Regions from separate parts of the Homo sapiens genome. Here region 2 is linked to region 1. Evidence: promoter capture Hi-C in 16 types of primary human blood cells and fetal thymus (Javierre and others, 2016). All regions are on one chromosome and are shown on one strand. The core of a region is centred on a gene start or on the middle of the fragment in contact, and the rest is flanking DNA. Distances in the headings are between cores, read along the strand shown.

Evidence for each region. The method cuts DNA at HindIII sites, captures the fragments that hold promoters and counts their contacts. A CHiCAGO score of 5 or more calls a contact.
Region 2: a contact is called between a fragment that was not itself captured here and the fragment with the promoter of KRT81 in region 1, in 1 of 17 cell types (M1 macrophages). The highest score is 5.3, in M1 macrophages.

The regions. Positions count from the first base shown.
Region 1 is chr12:52,289,682-52,294,700 of GRCh38, forward strand. It overlaps KRT81 (keratin 81), which reads right to left and starts at 1,853. Exons shown (of 9, transcript NM_002281.4): 1 at 1,416-1,853; 2 at 397-605. The coding sequence starts at 1,784. All of the region lies in intron 2 of KRT86 (keratin 86), which reads left to right. The HindIII fragment of the contact is 6,626 bases long and covers 1-2,445 here.
Region 2 is chr12:52,168,386-52,172,855 of GRCh38, forward strand. It overlaps KRT80 (keratin 80), which reads right to left. Exons shown (of 9, transcript NM_182507.3): 7 at 3,813-4,033; 8 at 3,273-3,328; 9 at 611-3,137. The coding sequence ends at 3,013. Among named protein-coding and RNA genes, the nearest start is that of KRT80, 21 kb to the right of the region's middle. The HindIII fragment of the contact is 4,944 bases long and covers 709-4,470 here.

The DNA.
Region 1 (5,019 bases), core at 603-3,102:
ACCTAAGGCAGTGGGACACCCAGAGCCCAAGACCTGTCACTCATGAGAGACCCTGGGCTCACATCTGACAGGTGCTACAAGTATAGGGGCTGAGGGTCAGGAGAGAAGGCCTGGACCCTGCAGAGGCTTCCTCCCCACCCAGCGCAGGGGAGAGCTGCTGGGTGATGTGGTTCAGGGAGAGAAGGCTGAAGTGGGACAGAGACAGGTCATGGGAGTCACAGCCCTCCTCTTACACAGGTGTCTGGGCAAAGATTCCACAAAGGAAAAGACCCCGCCACCCTCGGTCAATCTAGTGGTCATGGCCACTCACCCTACCTGGGAGTTCTTATTGTCTAATCCAGTGTATTTAACCTAAACCCCATTCCTGTGCCCAGCATCCCTCTTGCCCGCACTCACTTCTTCTTGTAGCCCTCCAGCACCTCCTGCACGTGGTTAAGCTCTGAGGCCAGCCTCCCGCTGTCGGCCTCCACGCACTCGGCCTCCCGCCGCAGAGTCTCGATGTAGCCCTCAAACAGGGGCTCCAGGTTGCTCTGGCAACACTCGCGGTTCTGGTAGAACTGCAGCTTTGTCTCCAGCAGTTTGTTCTGCTGCTCCAGGAAGCGCACCTGCCATTCGGTGTGGGAAGGTGGGGCAGATGGTGTCTGGTGCCCCAAAGCCAGCTCTGGGGGCTCGCAGGGGAGGTGCTTTAATGGGAACCCCCAAATCTGGAGCTTATCTGAGATTGAGTAGAGGTGGGCAGTGGGAGACAGACAATTTCTGGATTTCCTGGTCATGATCTGTGTCTAGATTTCCCACTCAGGAGTGGAGCAAGGGCTGGGTGGTGTCAGTGCCTGCTCCCTGGGGAGTTGAGTGACCCCCCCCCCCCAACCCAAGCAGATGAACAGAAGTGGAGGCTCAGTCCCTCACTATGAAACTAGGTGATCAGCAACCCACACAGGCAGAGTACTCAGGTTCAGATCACAGATGAGGTTTCTGGGGATGGTGCCAGGAAGAGGGTGTCACAGGCCATCTGGAAGGGAGCTCAGCTGTCCCAGCCCTTCCCCTGTGTCATCTGGAAGTCAGTGCACCCTACTCTCTCACCCTGGGGCTGCCCAAACCCCTCTGAGTTCAGCAGCAGTGGTCACATGCCCCCCTCCCCCAACTCCCTGATGTCTAGCTTGTGCCCCAGAGCAGCCTGGCCACACTTTTCCTTCACAAGCTCCCTCTATCTGAACTGTCAGCTGAGTCTGCATCTTGAGTGCCTGTGTGTGTGTGTCTGTGCATGTGTCTGTCTGTCTGTGTGTCTGTGTGCCTCGCCCATCAGACTGGGATCTCAGGCAGGCAGAGGTCTTTGTGCCTCTGACTCCATCCTTAGTGCCCGGCCCTGGCTGTGTAGGTGGTGGGGGTTCAGGAAGGGTGTGATCCAGGACACCCACCTTGTCGATGAAGGCCGCGAACCTGCTGTTGAGGGACTTGATCTGCTCCTTCTCCTCCTGCTTCACGCACTGCGCGTTGGGGTCGATCTCCAGGTTGAGGGGCGTGAGGAGGCTCTCGTTGACCGACACGGTGGTGATGCATGGGGGACTGGGCCCGCACACGCCCCCGGAGCGGTAGCCGAAGCTGCGTCCGCAGGAGCCGGCCCGAAAGCCTCCGCACACGCTGTGGCTGCCGAAGCCCCCGGTGAGGCCGCGGTAGCAGGAGATGCCACGGTAGGGGGCGGCGGTGATGCAGCAGCGGCCGGGCCGCGGCCCGCAGGCCGAGATGCAGCTGAAGGCGCGCCCACCAAATCCTGATCCGCAGGTCATGATCCTCCTGGACGTTTGGGTTGCAGAGGACAGGATAGGGGACCTGGAGTCCTGATGGAAACTCCAATGTGCTCCTCAGGGCACCGCAGCCCTATTTATGCGCAGATTCTGAAGGGGCTTGGCTGTGAAGATGATGTTGGGGCAATTTGCGCTTTATGGGCTTGGGTGGTTAGCCGGGTCTAACGCCTCTCCAGAATGTGCTTTAATGGGGGAGTGGCCTGCACCCTCTTCTTTGTAAAAGATGTCAGTCTTGGGCTCTGGGGGAGTCAGCATGTTTCATCTTCAAAGTGTCTTGCCAGCAGGGCATTCCTTCATCTGCAGGCATTGGGGAGGGAAGGGGAAGGCAGAGGAGAGGACGAGAAGGAGGAGTAGAGCCTGGCGAGGGGAAGAGAAGGGAGGCCAGGTGCTGGGAGAAACTGGGAGGAGGAGACCTGTGTGTTAAGTGTGATGTGGGGAGAGGGGTTTCAGGAAAGGCTGAGGCATTAATAAATACCATCTCTCATTTCCATCACAGCTGTGGCTAAAGTGCTCCTGAAACACAAATCTGGATTTCCCCATCTCCAGATTTTTCAGTTGGCAGCTGAAAACCATCTCACTTTTCCTACCATGGGAACAGTCAGCAGATTATTAAATATTTGTCTTTTATCTTTTTTATGATGAAAGCTTTCAAATATTGAGGAAAATTGGAATAATACAACACACATGCATTGATGCTCCACCTGTTTACCCCGATTCAACAGTTAACATTATACCATATTTGCTTTCACAGTTGCCCAATTATTTGAGTGGCAGAAAGCATGGCATGTCACCCTTAAATACATCAGCAGGAATTTCTTAAGAATAAGGAGAGTACTATTTTCTTATTCAGGAAAATTAACAATAATTCCAAAGCACCACTTACTATTCATCTCAGATTCAATTTTCCTAACTGTCCTAAGGATTTTAAAACTACATTTTACATAATTTAATTTGTGGCTCTAGCCCTTGTATTTTCTATAAATTAGAAAGTAAATCTTGAGCTGGGATGTCCAATTTGGTAGACAATAGGCAGATGTGGCTACTTAAATTTAAGTTAGTAAAAACTAAATAAGTTAAAAATCTAGTTATTCAGTTGCACTATCCACATTTTGAGTCCTCAGCAGCTACCTGTAAGTAGTGCCTACCTTATTAGACAGTGCATATAAAGAACACTTCTTTATTATTTATTTTTATTTTATTTATTGTTTATTTTCACATAAAATTCTGTTGGACAGCACTGGGCTAGAGGCTGGATTAGGTTTAAATTAAACATTGTTGGGACAGAATACTTCATAAAATATGCTGTGTAACTCTTATTATATCACCCCAGGAAGCATAAAATGTCAGATTGGTGATGCTAAATTGAATCACAGCTGGGCGCAGTGGCTCATACCTGTAATCCCAGCACTTTGGGAGTCTGAGGGGGGTGGATCACCTGAGGTCAGGAGTTCAAGACCAGCCTCAGTGGAGGAGTTTAAGACCAGAGATGGTGAAACCCCGTCTCTACTACAAATACAAAAATTAGCCCGTTATGGTGGCACGTGCCTGTATTCCCAGCTACATGGGAGGCTAAGGCAGGAGAATTGCTTGAACCCAGGAGATGGAGGTTGGATCACTTCAGTACATTTCCCCCTGTATTAGGAAAAACTGTATAGAGAATTAGAATTAGAAAGAACTGTGTAGAGAAACATGGATCTTAGTTTGATAAGAATATGTTTCTTTTTAATTGGTCACCTACTATGTGATCATCATTATATATCGTAAATGATCTCTAATTCTCACATCAATCATATGAAGTATGTGCCATTATCCCCATTTTACTGATGAGGAAACCAAGGGTCAGGGAGGTTAAATAACTTGCCCGAAGTCTCCCAGCTGGTAAGTGATGGAGCCAGGAGTTGCATTGCCTTCTCACTTATAAGCTGTGACAACCCCTTGACTTCCTAATCTTTGGATAAGTTCAAGAGGGTAGTGAAAGTTGTTTACAGGGGAGTATCTGTGAATTTAGGGTGTGAGAGAGTCCATCTAAGGAAGACGGGCAGAGTCAGAGTGGATTGGGATGGTTAGAACCATGAGGGGTCATTTAGGGACACACGGCGATGTGAGGCTACTTGGGGGCTGGGAAGGAGTATGAGTTAGATGTGCAGCACCCCGTGGCTAAGAATTGAAGGACGGGGTGGAAAACATCAGTTTTAGTTATTTGCATACCTCTGGTATATGGCAATACTTTGATAGACTGTACTATGTTCTACTTACCCAGTGAACCACCCCCCACTCCAATAGAGCAGGTCCTAGAAAAATTAGCTCGTAAAGTACAGAGGTTTGCATTAAATTGAGGAGAAGAAAAGAGAAGTGAAATGGCCTGGCTTATAGCCCCCTGGAGCTGCTATGCTTCAAGGGCAAAGGCAGGCAGAGTAGACTTAGGGAATGAGAACAGAAGCAGGATTGATGGGAAAAGAGAGGAGAGGAAAAAAATAGAAGAGAATAGGGCTCTCAGGGTATCTGTGCAAAACATTCAGAGTGTGGCCTTGTGCAGGACAAATGTGGGAGGTCACAGACTGTGTTGAGCTATCTGGTCACCCCAGAGAAGAGTATGGCACCTGCTGTCCCTTTGTGAGTTCAGGGCTGCTGGGCCAGCACTTCTGAAGCTCTTTGTACCCTCATCTGGAATTTGGGGCACTGCTCACAATTGAGCAGTGATGTCCCCAGTAAACCAGCGGTTGGGTGTCCTGAGGAGCACTGTGAGTCAAAGTACATCTCATCCACACTTCACCTTTTCTACCAGTATAACTCCTTATAAAAACAACATGTATAAACACAAGCTAATTACTAATGGCTGGTCCTTACTAAGCAATTTTAAAGATGTAAGAATATGAAAAATTCAAATGTGACACCATTTCATTAAACTTCAGGAATTAATTGCTGCTAATTTTTGAAGACCTAAAAGGACATTCAACTTGTTTTCTTCAGAGTGAAAAAACCTTGTCATGGGGAAGGGAGGAGGGGAGGGAAGGTGGCAGGGAGGAGGGGAGGGAAGATGGCAGAATCTCCACTCTATGGTCTTGGCTCTGGCAAGGTAAAGAGGATAGATTTTAACTTTGTGGAGATAACAATTATTTTTATTGTGAAATATTTCAACACAAAAAATGCATAGGTGGTTAGATCTGTAGCAATACCTACCACTTATAGGAAAAAATAGAACATGTGTGTATTTCAG
Region 2 (4,470 bases), core at 1,931-4,430, 120 kb before region 1:
GTACGCATCAGAATACATTCTGGGCTGTGTCAATTCCCAGTAGGGCAGAAGTGCTTAAGAAGAAACCCTGCCACCACTGGGGAATCCCCAGCATGTGTGCTGGCTAAAGCAGCCTGTGTGGTGCCTGGATATGTCAGGAGGCGCTGGGAACATAGGTCAACGTTGGTGCAGTCTCAGTGCAGCACAGTGTATTAGTCAGCCCAGGGGCCTGGCTGTGCTTATAGTGTGTTCTTAAACACACTATAAAGAAATCCCCTGGCTGGGCGCTGTGGCTCACACCTGTAATCCCAGTACTTTGGGAGGCCGAGGCGGGCAGATTACTTGAGGTCAGGAGTTTGAGACCAGCCTGACCAACATGGTGAAACCCCATCTCTACTAAAAATACAAAAGATTAGCCGGGGATGGTGGTGGGTGCCTGTAATCCCAGCTACTCGGGAGGCTGAGGCAGGAAAATTGCCTGAACCCGGGAGGCAGAGGTTGCAGTGAGCCGAGATCCAGCCACTGCACTCCAGCCTGGATGACAGAGCAGGATTCTGTCTCACACATACACACACAGACACACACACACAGACACACACATACACAAAAGAAAGAAATCCCTGAGACTTGGTAATTTATAAAGAAAAGACATTTATTTTGGCTCACAATTCTGCAGGCTGTACTGGCATGGCACCAACATTTGCTCAGCTTCTGGTGAGGGCCTCAGGAAGCTTACAGTAAAGGCGGAAGGTGAAGGGGGAGCAGGCATATCACATGGCGAGAAAGAGGGGAGAGGTCTCAGACTCTTTTAAACAACCATATCTATGTGAATTGAGTGAGAACTCACTCATCACCAAGGAGATGGTGCTGAGCCATTCATGAAGGATCCTCTCTCATGATCCAAATACTTCCCACCAGGCTCCACTTCCAACACTGGGAATTACATTTCAACATGAGATTTGGAGGGGACGAGCATCCAAACCATATCAGATGGTGAGACAGGAGAACTTTGTGTGTACCAGCTGCACTGGTCTGAAGATATAACTAAGTCCCTGGACTTTTTCTCCCTTAATTGGAGAATTCCTAATGTTCCATGATCAGCCTGATTGACCAGTGGCTGACTGGTCCTGAGAGGGGAGATAAAAACAGACACACAGCTTTCTCCATAGACAAATCTCAACACTTTATTCATCCTGTGGCAGCAAGAAGGGGACATGGCCCCAAGATAGCCAATCAGGTGAGGTGGCTGGAGTATGTGTTATCTTTCCAGATAGTACATACAGACTGATCATGCAGAAACAGGAAGGGAAGCAATAAGTTAAAAGCCACATAAGTTATGAAAAAATAATATATACTTTATATGTCTTGTATCCCCACTGAGGATTTGCTCCCTTGGAAACCAATGAAGAGCCTGAGGAAAAGCACCAATCAGCACCCTCTTTTGGGACTTTGGGGATGAGAATCTCTGAGTTCCCATGGCCAGAGAGTCAGTAACCCTCCAGTGCTCCCCACAGGCCTGGAGGGCCTTGAGGCCTGGGATGGGCCCAGACCTCTGGCCAACATGTCCTGGCAAATGAGATGAATGAATCTAATGCAGTCTAGAAGAGGAGGTGAGGCAAGGGGCAGGGAGGGGAGAGGAGAGTGAAGGAGGGAAGGAAGCTGTGCAGTGGGAGGCTGGTGCCGCTGGGATGCCTCTGCAAGCCTCAGCATTGAGAGCCAAGAGGAGGAGATAGGAGTATGCCTGCCAACACCCCTGTCTTCTGGTGGGATGTGGAATTTTCCTCTCTGGTAGAACCCTTGTAAGGCTGTCATTTGGGCCCCACAGCTGGACCTCAAGGGCTTGGAAGCTCCCAGACTTGCCTGGACTGTGCCTTCTTCCTGGCCTGCTGGAGGCAGGGGGAGTGGGCATGGAGGGAGGAAGGGGAAGGAGTGAGAAGAAAGGAGGAGCTCTAACCCCATAGGTGTGGGGGGTTCCTGGGCTCCCCCATGAATGCCAAGGAGGGGAGGGCCAGGCTATTTGGCCCAGTGGAGAGGAGAACAGAGGCCCTGAGAAGTGAGATTCTTGGGAAGTGGGCCTGGGGCTTCACGGCAGGGGTGGGACCAGGGGTCTCCAAGGCCTGGTGCACCAAAGCCCGGTGCTCAGGCTGGGAACAACCCGGCTGGGGGCACAGAGCTCAGATCCAGGCTGGGTAGGACCCCAGCATGGCAGGGAGGTGAAAGGAAGATCGAATGCTCCTGCCCAATCTCAAGCTGCCATCTGGCTTCCACTCCCAGGGAGTTGATTATGGCAAGAGCAGCTTCCGGAGAAGCTGCTGGGAGCTGGCTGGGGGCAGCCCATCCAGTTCTGACTACTGCCTACTGGGAGGGACCCATGGGAGGAGGAAGGGATGCGGGTGTTCGGGCTGATCTCTGGGGCCTAGGCTTAGGTCCCAAATAGCCAGGGCCCCTCCTCCCTTCACTCCCTAATACTGTCAGGTCTCTGGGGAGCCCAAAGAGCACGGGAAAGCCAAGAGGGTCTTCAGCAGCCAGCCTTCCCAGGAATTCCAGATACAGGACAGGGCCCACGCCGTCCTCCTCGGCTCCCGCACATAGGTGGATGAGCCAGTCCCAGTCCCAGTTCCGAGGCAGAGACAAGGCAAGGCTTGAGATAGGAGTCAAGGTCAAGGATTGGGCAAGAGTCAGAGGGGCCTTGGCAGAGCCTGATGCTGGAGGAGGAGCCTCAGAGGAGCGAGGAGGTGGAGACAAAACTGACCCCTAATTCCGACTCACCCATCAGGAAAACCTCTGGCCAGAAGGTTGGAAGGATGGGACTGTGAGATACTGATATGGAGCGGAGTGGCTCTGAGGAGCTGGTGATGCTCCTCTCCCACCCTGGCAGCCCACAAAACACAGTCAGTTTTGAACCCCTCTCTCAGTTCAATATCAGGTTTTGCCTCTCTTCTCAACCTAGAGGCTCCAAGCTGCTTTCTTGAGTCTAGCTTAAGTCCCTCCTGCTGCAGTGGAGTGCCCTGGGGTTCCTGGGGTCCAGCCGCCTTACTCTGAGACCTCCGACTCCTGCGAGAAGTACTTCTCTGACATTTCGGTGATTTTGATCACGGGGCCTTTGCTGCCCTTCTTCTTTCGGGAGGGGGCCTTGGAGAGGCCTGATCTGGAGGCAGCTACAGGGAACATAAGGGGTAGGGGAGGGAAGGGGCTGGAGGTTTGGGAGCCACTTAAAATGATGCCTTTAGGATCATGATCCCCTACACCCTCACCCTCACCCCACCATGGGTTCTCGGGGCAAGAGGACTCACCGGTTTTGCACCTGGACTGCACAGCGCTGACCACAGTGGCTGAGGGCGAGTCCATCCTGGGGGTGGGGGACGGGGGGGTGGGAGAGGGATATGATGGGATGCGAAGAGAGCCTGTGGCTTAAACTCCCCTGGGGGCTGGCAAGTGGAGGGTAGTTCTTGGTGGTCACTCCCAGCCCTGGGGTTGCCCTGTTGTGTGGCCCTGGCTAGCCAGCTTGTCCTTCCTGGGCCTCTGTCCCATCTCCATGGCATAAATGGCTAATAGCATTGAGCACTGAGTTTTGACAGGCATTTGCAGGCATAATCACATGAATCATCCCTGCCACAGGTGAACCATGTTTATGATCAGCCCACTTTCCAGATGGGGAAACAGGATGAAATGAACTGGGCCAAGGTCCCAGTTTGTAAGTGACTAAGCCAAGACTTAAACCCAGGCCTGGTAGGCTCACTGTATCATATTGGAAAGGAGAACTGACTTTGTGTAGGCCTGGGCCTCCAGCCCTCCTTCCCCTGCAGCCCTTCCTCACCAGCCCTGGCTCTCACCTGCCCTCCTCGCCCTCCACCAGCTTCCTGTAGGTGGCGATCTCGATGTCCAGGGCCAGCTTGACGTTCATCAGCTCCTGGTACTTGCGCAGCTGCCGCGCCATGTCCTGCTTGGCCTGCTGCAGGGCGGCCTCCAGCTGGGCCAGCTTGGTCTTGGCATCCTGGAAGGCCAGCTCACCCTGCTCCTCAGCTGTCTTGATGTTCTCCTCCAGTTTCAGGCACTGCAGCCAGGAGGACAGAGTGAAAGGGCCTGTGAGCAGGGGAAGGAGGAGCGGGCCAGGGCCAGGAGTCGTCTCTGTCCTTGGTGGGGGTAGGTGTGGGGAGGGAGGGCTGAGCAATGGCATTTCTGGGTGTGGTAACTGGTTGCCATGCAGCAAGAGGGAGTTCAGTTAGACCTGAAGAGGCACCTTCCCAAGGCCAGAGGAAAGCACCGCAAGCCACTAAAGGAGCCTGTCCCGGCTGTCCTTATGGGGCAGCACCTGCCCTGAAGGTTTGTCCTGGCTGGAAGCTGGGACTTAGGCCTCTACTCCCTCCTCTCTGTGTAGTTGGTGGGGGTTCCCAGGAGGGAGGCAGTGGGCTCTGGGTGTGTGTAGTGTGGGGGCTTTCTAACGTTCCAGCAGCCTTGACCAGATTACAGAGTATTTTTGTATGCAGAGCG